Linked DNA regions of Homo sapiens: region 1 is linked to region 2. The links are contacts of gene promoters, found by promoter capture Hi-C in blood cells and fetal thymus (Javierre and others, 2016). All regions are on one chromosome and are shown on one strand. Each heading gives the region's core, a stretch centred on a gene start or on the middle of the fragment in contact. The rest is flanking DNA. Distances are from core to core; before and after follow the strand shown.

Region 1 (5,153 bases), core at 548-3,047, about 11 Mb before region 2:
TTTCCAACCCCTGTTGTCTTAAATAAAGCTCCATAGAGGGGGTCAGTGGGGAGCACTGAGGATTCAAGAGGCCAGCTCCACCAGACCAGCAAATAATAATCAACCTTGTTAGTGAGGAAAAGTTGGTGGTGACCTAGACATGTTTGTGCAATATATTCAAAGTGAACAGGTCCTGCCAACTAGTTGTACATAGGTTCACTTTACTAGGGAATATACTTGTTTTTAAAGACATATACTTATTATTTTCAAAATACTCCCTTTTTGTTTTTAAAATGCTAAATCTAGAACCTCAATCAGAGGTATTGATTATTGGCAGGAACACCTAAATCTGGACAGATCCTAATGAGCATCAATCACTTTGATGAAATCAAAGCTAAGAGTATGAAAAAAAATTCTCTTTTGTACAAGGTGACAGAATGTACCAGAAGACCACATTTAAACATAACTCAGGGATCCTGCAATTATCTGGAAAATAGCTAAAAACCAGGACGAAGCAAAAAGAATTCTGAGGCCGGGCACGGTGGCTCACACCTGTAATCCCAGCACTTTGGGAGGCCGAGGCGGGCGGATCACGAGGTCAGGAGATCGAGACCATCCTGGCTAACACGGTGAAACCCCGTCTCTACTAAAAATACAAAAAAAATTAGCCCGGCGTGGTGACGGGCGCCTGTAGTCCCAGCTACTCTACTCGGGAGGCTGAGGCAGAAGAATGGCGTGAACCCGGGAGGCGGAGCTTGCAGTGAGCCGAGATTGCGCCACTGCACTCCAGCCTGGGTGACAGAGCGAGACTCCGTCTCAAAAAAAAAAAAAAAAAAAAAGAATTTCTGAGTTCTGAGAAAACCAAATGTCATGAAGTCCACGCACTCAAGCTTATGCACTTAACTAGTAGGAAAGACATTTAGCTCTCAGTCAGAACTACCAGGTTGTAATGACACACAGTTACATTAAGCATAGATCCAGGGTTATCAAAGCTATAACAAACAAGAAGCCCCAAATTAAAGCTGGTGGAAAGAGTATGGTGACAGCAACAACAATAAAACAACTGTTGCTGCCAGATTTCAAAAACATGATGCAGAACAGTCTGCGAGGAAAACAGTCTGTCAGAAAAACTAAAAAGCAGACGTAAGTACTTAAAAAGTATAGCAACGGGCCTCAGAGCCTATTGAGACATTTGGGACTGTTTGCTTCTACACCAGCACTTTGGGAGGCTGAGGTGGGTGGATCACTTGAGGTCAGGAGTTCCAGATCAGCCTGGCCACCTGGTGAAACCCTGTCTTTACCAAAAATACAAAAATTAGCCGTGTCTGGTGGCCCACGTCTGTTAATCCCAGCTACTCCAGAAGCTGAGGCAGGAGAATCGCTTGAACCTGGGAGGCAGAGGTGGCAGTGAGCCAAAATCGCACCACTGCACTCCAGACTAGCCCACAGAGCAAGACCCCGTCTCAAAAAAAAGTATAGCAGTGTAGAATAAATTGGTATAGAAGCAACAGTCCCAAATGTCTCAATAGGCTCTGAGGACATCACTCTATTAAAATTCATATCAGCATCGATATTCATTTTAATGATCTCAAGATAAAATCAAGTAAAGATAAAACTGCACTCCAGGCTCACCACTGCACTCCAGACTAGGCCACAGAGCAAGACCCCGTCTCAAAAAAAAAGTATAGCAGTGTAAAATAAATTGGTATAGAAGCAAACAGTCCCAAATGTCTCAATAGGCTCTCAGGACATCACTCTACTAAAATTCATATCAGCATCTAAACTCATTTTAATGATCTCAAGATAAAATCAAGTAAAGATAAAACTGCATTGCATAAACTCTGTTTAGTAAATCGAGGACCAGAGAAATACATTTGCCAAAGGGTTTTGAGTTAGAGTGCTCACAAAAGGTTGGTGCTTAAGGGGAACAAATGAGTAAAAATTATTATGGTCATAGACAGCTGAAGTTTAACTGAATTTATTAATTTACCTGAGGTAATTATTATGTATATTTCAAATAAAATAGTAATTCCGTTTTCCTAAAGGTAAAAATACATTAGGTATACATTCCCGAGTCACTGCCCATAAACTAGGATCAGAACAACCAGAATTATAAGGATCAAAATACTGACGTTATTCCTTTAATGCCTTAAAATTAGTCTTTCTTTGTACATTTGGCATAGGACAAAGGCGAGCTCATTTTGGACAGATTTGTTAAACTATCAAGAGGTTGTCAGGCAATTAGGCAGCAGGTCATTACTAAGACCGATACCTTCAAGTATCTATTAAAACCATCATTTTGAAACTGTGAAATCTGGAAAGTGATCAGCTACAAAGGGCCAAATATGGAATGCAGAAGATACAGAATGTGGTGGCTTTGTGTCCGGGATTGGTGGGTTCTTGGTCTCACTGACTTCAAGAATGAAGCTGCGGACCCTCGCGGTGAGTGTTAACAGCTCTTAAGGTGGCACGTCTGGAGTTTGTTCCTTCTGATGCTCAGATGTGTTCAGAGTTTCTTCCTTCTGGTGGGTTCGTGGTCTCGCTGGCTCAAGAGCGAAGCTGCAGACCTTCGTGGTGAGTGTTACAACTCTTAAGGCGGCGCGTCTGGAGTTGTTCGTTCCTCCCCGTGGTCTCGCTGGCTTCAGGAGTGAAACTGCAGACCTTCGCGGTGAGTGTTACGGCTCATAAAAGCCGTATGGTCCCAAAGAGTGAGCAGTAGCAAGATTTATCGCAAAGAGCGAAAAAACAAAGCTTCCACACTGTGGAAAGGGACCTCAGCGGGTTGCCACTACTGGTGGGCAGCCTGCTTTTATTCTCTTATCTGGCCCCACCCACATCCTGCTGATTGGTAGAGCCGAGTAGTCTGTTTTGACAGGGCGCTGATTGGTGCGTTTACAATCCCTGAGCTAGACACAAAGGTTCTCCACGTCCCCACTAGATTAACTAGATACAGAGTGTTGACAGAAAGGTTCTCCAAGGCCCCACCAGAGTAGCTAGATACAGAGTGTCGACTGGTGCATTCACAAACCCTGAGCTAGACACAGGGTGCTGATTGGTGTGTTTACAAACCTTGAGCTAGATACAGAGTGCCGATTGGTGTAGTTACAATCCCTGAGCTAGACATAAACGTTCTCCACGTCTCCACCAGACTCAGGAGCCCAGCTGGCTTCGCCCAGTGGATCCCGCACCGGGGCTGCAGGTGGAGCTGCCTGCCAGTCCCGCGCCGTGCACCCGCACTCCTCAGCCCTTGGGTGGTCGATGGGACTAGGCACCGTGGAGTAGGGAGCGGCGCTCATCGGGGAGGCTCGGGCCGCACAGGAGCCCACGGAGTGGGTGGGAGGCTCAGGCATGGCGGGCTGCAGGTCCCGAGCCCTGCCCCGCGGGAAGGCAGCTAAGGCCCGGCGAGAAATCGAGCGCAGCGCCAGTGGGCTGGCACTGCTGGGGGACCCAGCACACCCTCCGCAGCCGCTGGCCCGGGTGCTAAGCCCCTCATTGCCCGGGGCCGGCAGGGCCGGCCTGCTGCTCCCAGTGCGGGGCCCGCCAAGCCCACGCCCACTCGGAACTCCAGCTGGCCCGCAAGCGCGGCGCGCAGCCCCGGTTCCCGCTCACGCCTCTCCCACCACACCTCCCTGCAAGCTGAGGGAGCCGGCTCCCACCTTGGCCAGCCCAGAAAGGGGCTCCCACAGTGCAGCGGTGGGCTGAAGGGCTCCTCAAGTGCCGCCAAAGTGGGAGCCCAGGCAGAGGAGGCCTGGAGAGCGAGCAAGGGCTGTGAGGACTGCCAGCACGCTGTCACCTCTCAGCTTGGGTGCTGCAACAGGCAAAGCAGCAGCCTGGGTTTCTCCAGCCCCGTCACTCGAACCCACGGGCTCATCACCGCACGGTGCGGCCAGACGCCCTTTCTCCTACGTTGGGAGCGAATCTCCTCGGCTCACACAACCCAGCCACCGGCTCCCACCGCGCTGGAACCCCTCTGGCAGCGAGGGTTTGTCCCAGTGCGGGTGACGCCCGGAAAGGAACCAGTCCCAACAGCGCAGGAGACTGAGGGGTCCCTCCACCAGGATCCGCTCACCTGCTTCCAGGTGTGTCGCCTAAGAGCGGCTCCTGTTCACTTTCGTTCCGCAGGCCGGCCATAGTTACACTCCCTACAAGGCGTCTTGCGCCCAACTCTCGCGACACCTGCTTTCTCCCATCCCGGGTGGCGTGAAGCTGGCAAAACAAGCCTGTAAGTGCGCGTGCGCACCTGACGGTCAGACGTAGGCGGAACGCCCCGAGGTCATAGGCGGGGTCACGCGGAAGGCCGGGCAGCGCAGGGCGAAAGGAGGCTGTGTCCTCAGCCTCCTCCCTCGGCACGCGCCTCCCATCCTGACGGGGACTGAGAGCCCAGGAGAGCTCGGGGCGTGTCCAAACTGCCGCGCCGCCCTGCTCCGGGTTTGTCTTCCTCCCTCCGTTTCTCCTTCCGCTGTATCTAGCATTTCGGTTCCTGGAAAGGTTACCGGAGCTGCGATTGGGGCTGGGACCAAAGTTGAGTCCTGGAAAGGGAGCCTGGAGAGCGGCGGTGCTGGGAGGCCCGGCCAGCTCGATCGCAGGCTTCCACCTGGCGGCCAGTAAGTAGCCGGTCCGGTTAAGTAGTAGGTGCGCTAAGAGCTCCCCGCGCCTCTTAGCGCGCCGTGTACGCGCCTGGAGGCAGGGACCGGGGACGCGGAGCTGGGCGGGAGACTCGCGGGTCAGGGACGCGGGGTGAGGCTGGGGGTGAGAGACAAGGCTGGAGTCCGTGGCGCGCTTCGGAGGGCTGAGATAATGGGGGCGAGCGCGCGGGCAGTCCCTTCCCCCCGTGAAAGGTAGAGGTGGCTTCCAGCTCTCTTCTCTAGCTCGGCTAAATGCAAAGGCGCCTTACCTGGAGGGCTTGTCAGAGCCAGGACTGAAGGTGGGATCTGCTGCTTGTAACCTGCAGGTCCCCGGATGCGCACCCCAACGGCGCCTGCGCCTACGGGGGCCTCAGCCTTGCAAAATGTCACTCAGCAGAGCCTGCTGCTGAAACGTGGGAGTTGAAAAAGGTACAGCACCTGCCTAGCAATGACCAGCTCCTTTCGTCACAAGGAAGATGACATTTTTAGAAAACATGTCATGGGTTTTCACTAGATCTCCATGTTTATTTCTTGGTGGTTATGTATTAA
Region 2 (4,999 bases), core at 2,123-4,622:
AAGTTTTTATTTTTTAAGACTCAGCAGCTGGGCGCCCTGGCTCACGCCTGTAATCCCAGCACTTTGGGAGGCCGAGGCGGGCGGATCACCTGAGGTCGGGAGTTCAAGACCAGCCTGACCAACATGGAGAAACCCTGTCTCTACTAAAAATACAAAATTAGCCGGGCATGGTGGTGCATGCCTGTAATTCCAGCTACTCGGGAGGCTGAGGCAGGAAAATCGCTTGAACCCAGGAGGCAGAGTTGCGGTGAGCTGAGATCGCACCATTGCACTCTAGCCTGGGCGACAAGAGCGAAACTCTGTCTCAAAAAAAAAAAAAAAAAAAAAGATTCAGCAGCAGGCCGGGCGTTGGGGCTCACATCTATAATCCCAGCACTTTGGGAGGCTGCGGTGGGTGGATTGCTTAAGCCCAGGAGTTCAAGAGTAGCCTGGGCAACATTGAGAAATCCTGTCTATACACACACACAAAAAAAACCCAGAAGCAATAGCAAATTGTTAACATTTGTTAAATCTAGGTGACAAATACATGAATTTCTTTTATATTCTTTTTTTTTTTTTGGAACAAGGTCTCAGCTCTGTTGCCCAGGCCGGAGAGCAGAGGTGTCATCACAGCTCACTGCAGTCTCGACCTCTGGGGCCGAAGGAATCTTCCCACCCAAGCCCACAAAGTAGCTGGGACTACAGGCTCACAGCACCACACCTGGCAAATTTTAAAATTTTTTTGTAGAGACAGGGTCTCACTATGTTGCCCAGGTTGGTCTCAAACTTCTGGGCTCAAGCGATCTTCCTGCCTCAGCCTCCCAGTGTCGGGATTATAGGTATGAGGCATTATGCCTGGCCTATGTTTTTTTTTTTGAGATGTAGTCTCACTCTGTTGTCCAGGCTGGAGTGCAGTGGTGCGATCTTGGCTCACTGCAACCTCCACCTCCCAGGTTCAAGCGATTGTCTTGCCTCAGCCTCCTGGATAGCTGGGGTTACAGGCACGCACCACCACACCCGGCTAATTTTTGTATTTTTAGTAGAGACGGGGTTTCACCATGTTGGTCAGGCTGGTCTTGAACTCCTGACCTTGTGATCCGCCCGCCTCAGCCTCCCAAAGTGCTGGGATTACAGGTGTGAGCCACCAAGCCCAGCCTTTTTTTTTTTTTTAAATAAGATCCAAGTACTTAATAAGATGTAACAGTCTCAATAGAGAACATCTTACATATATGGAGAAATTTCACTCAACATATCCCTTTTGTAGAATTAAAGTTTGCAAGGTAAATGATTTTATTTCTTTCTTTTTGGTTAATATTTTTTAGAGTTAGCATTTGGAACATAGTGACATGCAAGCACATGGGGTAAGATGAATTAACTATCATCAGCAGCAGCAGCGGCAGCATATAGCCTTGGATATGTTAACTTTCTGAAAGCATGGCTGTTACTTACAGTATAACTCAAATGGGATCTCTATTTGTGAAATTGTGGTGATCAGAGTAAATATATATTTTTTTATTCAATTCAGGCTACTGTGTGGTCAGACTGTTATCTGTAGGTGCATTTTAACTAGCAAATGAATCAGTTAAATGTTGAATCAGACTAGTATTTGCCGAGCCTTTAAAATTGCCATTTCTTTGTCATCACCCAAAAAGAATGTAACATTTGCCAAACTCTATTTCTGGCTCATCTAATCAGGTACTCAGGTTCTGGTGGAAGCTACTGATTGTTTCAAAGACCAGAAATTTTCTTCCTCTGAAGGAAAATAGAATATTCTTTACAGGAGAAATTTAGAGAACTATAGCAAATAGTATTGCTGTAGGGATTTTTGGATATGAAGCCAGAAATTTGGATATGAAGCCAGAGATTTGGAAATCCAAGCTAAAACTATCAACTGCATTTAGACTATTTTTTCTGTCTTTCAATAGTTCAGACAGTTGAAAGATCTCTTGGGGCAGTGAATTTTGCAGGTTATTACTAAGTAACAGCTTAAAAATGAATTATAAGCTTGTTCTTAGTTTTATAAAGTTAAGGTTAAAATACTGGCCATATTTCAAACTGAAACATAGTTTCCTGTATATATGATTTTTCTCAAACTTTTGAAGAGAGATCACAGAATTTAAGGAAACTCCAGGATTTGACTGTTAAAAACCTTATTTATGACCCCGGTGAAGGGCGAGGACAATCAATATAGCAGCTACAAAACCCAAGTTTATATTGGGAAACATGTATCTCAACTCACACCTTTCAGGGACAGTTAAGAGAAGTTTGAAAATTAAAATATCTTTGCAAATAAATTTAAAACAGTAAAAAACACGCACATATTGTTTAATAATTCATGATGCAAAGAATGCTACAGAGTGAAATCAGGATTTGGAAAGAGGTAATCAAAAACCAAAGGTTAAAAGTGGCTCATATAACTTGAAAATTTTTAGATCAATGGAATGCCACTTTGAAAAAGTTTTACGGTCAGCTGTTAATGAAATGACTTACATTTTTGGAAGGACTCCTATTCGGTATGTAGTCTGACCTCGCCTACTCGAGTAGTTCCCTCTAGTATCCTTGCCAGTCTTTGGCTTCTAAGATCTGAGAATTTCTGGGGATGGGGAGTTCGAGTCACAATATTAAGAACTAGTTTGAAGCCAGCTCCAGGGTAGTCTGTCTTTAAGTCTCCACTACTCCGCTCCAAGGTGACTCATAAGGTCGGTCCGTCAACTCTGCATTATATGGCCTCAACAACGAAATTAAAACACATACTTTAACCTCCAGAGCCTCCTTTGGCAGTGCAAATATGTCACTTCGGATCTGACTAACTACCTTTCCAGGCTGATCTTAAGCAACATTCACCAAATTACCGATACGACAGCCAGGCCCATTTCATCGGTCAAGCTCTTTCACGATTTCCAGACTCTGTTAAGCCCCTTTCTCCCCAGGGCTGTTAACAAGTCTCCACTGCGGTGAAGCTTTTTTCATTTTCCACTCCGCCTCTGCTCCTTAAATTAGGCATTTCGTCCATAATCAACTACAGCGCTTCTCAAACACCTACACCTGTATTTTAGCACTTTGGGCTCAAACGATGATCACACAGTGTGCGAGACTCTTTCCAAGGAATGAAAGGTCGATCTAGCAGGAAGGCGCCAGAGAGGCTGTTTTTGATGAGGAGGCGGTCTGAACCGTACTTGCCTAGCCTCCCGTAGCTCCGCGGGCGCTTCGAGGGTACCACGCACTGAAATGATGGGCGGGGCCTGCCCCGACCCTCCCGGCCTCCACAGGCAGGCCAGCCTCCAGGTTTCCCGGCAAGCTCCGAAACCCAGAGGAGGTGGGGAAAGGAGGTCACCGCGCCTGCGTGTTAGGAAGCGTGACCCGGGTGGGAAAACCCTCCGCGTCCGCCATTTTGGCTGCCTCTGTCGGTCTGTTCAGTTACCACGTGAACCGCCGACGGAGACCCGTAGTGGGGGAGGCGGCGGCAGCGTTAAGTGAGAAAGGAAAAAAGACAACGAGGAAAAAGGAGGTGTCCGGGTAGGGCAACGCGGCGACACCCGAGGCCTGGTGGTGGCGGCGGATCGAGATATTCAAGGCTGAAGCAGCTACGGAACGGCAGCGGCGGCGGTCGGACAAACTGACTGACCGAGCCGGGTGGTGGCGGGAGCAGCGGGAGCAGCCGGAACGATGCCGGCCGTGAGCCTCCCGCCCAAGGAGAATGCGCTCTTCAAGCGGATCTTGGTAAGTGTGAGGCTCCGGGCAAGCGGTGGGGAGGATTTAGCCGGTAACCGGGCCTGTCACCCCTAACCTCGGCCCGGCGGGCACTGAGCCACTCCCGCCCGGGACCCCGCCTTCATAGCTCTCGTCAGGCCGAATGCATTGCTTTGCTCCCTCTCTGTGGTTCCTACTATGGCCCGCGCGCCAGGGACCACAGGCTTCTTCATTCCATCCCCACGCTTGAGGCCCTGGTTCCGGACTAGGCCCCGACCTCCCGGCTTCTAGACTGCCGGTTCTCATTCTCCCCGATCTGGGGGAGAAGAGGCCCGGCCTTTGGCGGGCAAGTGGGCGACACCGGCAGGAGTCGCGGCCCGGTTGGTGTGGGAACCCTGCTGGCAGGTCGGGGTGGCACCCTTGGAAGGAACAGGTGGTGCGGATGCAGCAGGCTCATTCATTGCCTAAACGCGGTTCTCCCTCCATCATCTGTCCCTCCCTCTTCCTCCTCTCTTGGGATTCACCTGTCTCCGCCCGGCCCGGGGTCACCCAATGACCTGAGAGGAGGGAAAGAAGGAGTTCAGAGAAGGAAAGAAAGCTTTTCAAACGACTACCTCCTTGTAGTCAGTTGCATACTGGAGTCTTCAGCTCCTCTGCCTCCGTTGTTCTCGTTTCTGGAGTAGGGATGAGGCATTTATTTCTTAGTTTCCGAGCGGGAAACAGCCCCACCCCGTCACTCTTCTCGGGAGGTGGGGCCCATTGCGAGGGGGCGGTTCGGTAGGAAGTAAAAAGTTGAGTCTTTAGTTGAAACGTTGCAGACCTAGACTTTTCTTATACACTGAAGTATATTAACACATGCAAAAACTTACCAGAGAAATGAGAATATAAGAACTTTTGAGATGGATTTTGTTGACGCTAGCTCAGACTTATTCCCTACGGTTCAAATGTGTGCAGTTTGTATTTTTTTAAACCATAAATGCATTGATGTTTGCAGGGACTGTTTACATTGTAAAATATGTCCTGTAGCCTTGGAGCTATAATTAACACATTGTAGCACATTTTTTGTTTGGCATTTAGTATGTGGGTTCCCCCTTTCACGCAAACGTTTCCTTATGATAGAATTAACTGTATTTGCCAAATTTAAGACTTTTAAAATTTGGGATGTGTGTGTGAAAGTGTTAGCCTTTTCCCCCGCAGTTATAATTTATTTCACCTGTTTGAAAAGTAGAACAACTCTGGGGATTCAGTTTTTCTAGAAATGAATAATCATCCATTTGAACTAACTTTGATTTTACAAAAGTGTCCATATGCCCTACAGATTTAGTGAATT

The links. Contacts are between HindIII fragments. The CHiCAGO score rates a contact against its expected background, and 5 or more counts as called.
Region 1: a fragment that was not itself captured here is called in contact with the fragment with the promoter of NAA15 in region 2 in 1 of 17 cell types (naive CD4 T cells); the score reaches 5.5 in naive CD4 T cells.

The regions. Positions count from the first base shown.
Region 1 is chr4:127,961,024-127,966,176 of GRCh38, forward strand. MFSD8 (major facilitator superfamily domain containing 8) reads right to left here and starts at 4,150. Exons shown (of 12, transcript NM_001371596.2): 1 at 4,049-4,150. The coding sequence starts at 4,110. ABHD18 (abhydrolase domain containing 18) reads left to right here and starts at 4,383. Exons shown (of 13, transcript NM_001358451.3): 1 at 4,383-4,583. RefSeq lists silencers at 3,107-3,216, 3,327-3,456, 3,467-3,516, 4,637-4,866 and enhancers at 3,957-4,376, 3,967-4,582. The HindIII fragment of the contact is 1,861 bases long and covers 868-2,728 here.
Region 2 is chr4:139,298,133-139,303,131 of GRCh38, forward strand. It overlaps NAA15 (N-alpha-acetyltransferase 15, NatA auxiliary subunit), which reads left to right and starts at 3,373. Exons shown (of 20, transcript NM_057175.5): 1 at 3,373-3,699. The coding sequence starts at 3,646. It overlaps NDUFC1 (NADH:ubiquinone oxidoreductase subunit C1), which reads right to left and starts at 4,345. Exons shown (of 6, transcript NM_001184989.2): 1 at 4,284-4,345. RefSeq lists enhancers at 2,764-2,883, 3,364-3,423. The HindIII fragment of the contact is 1,328 bases long and covers 2,938-4,265 here.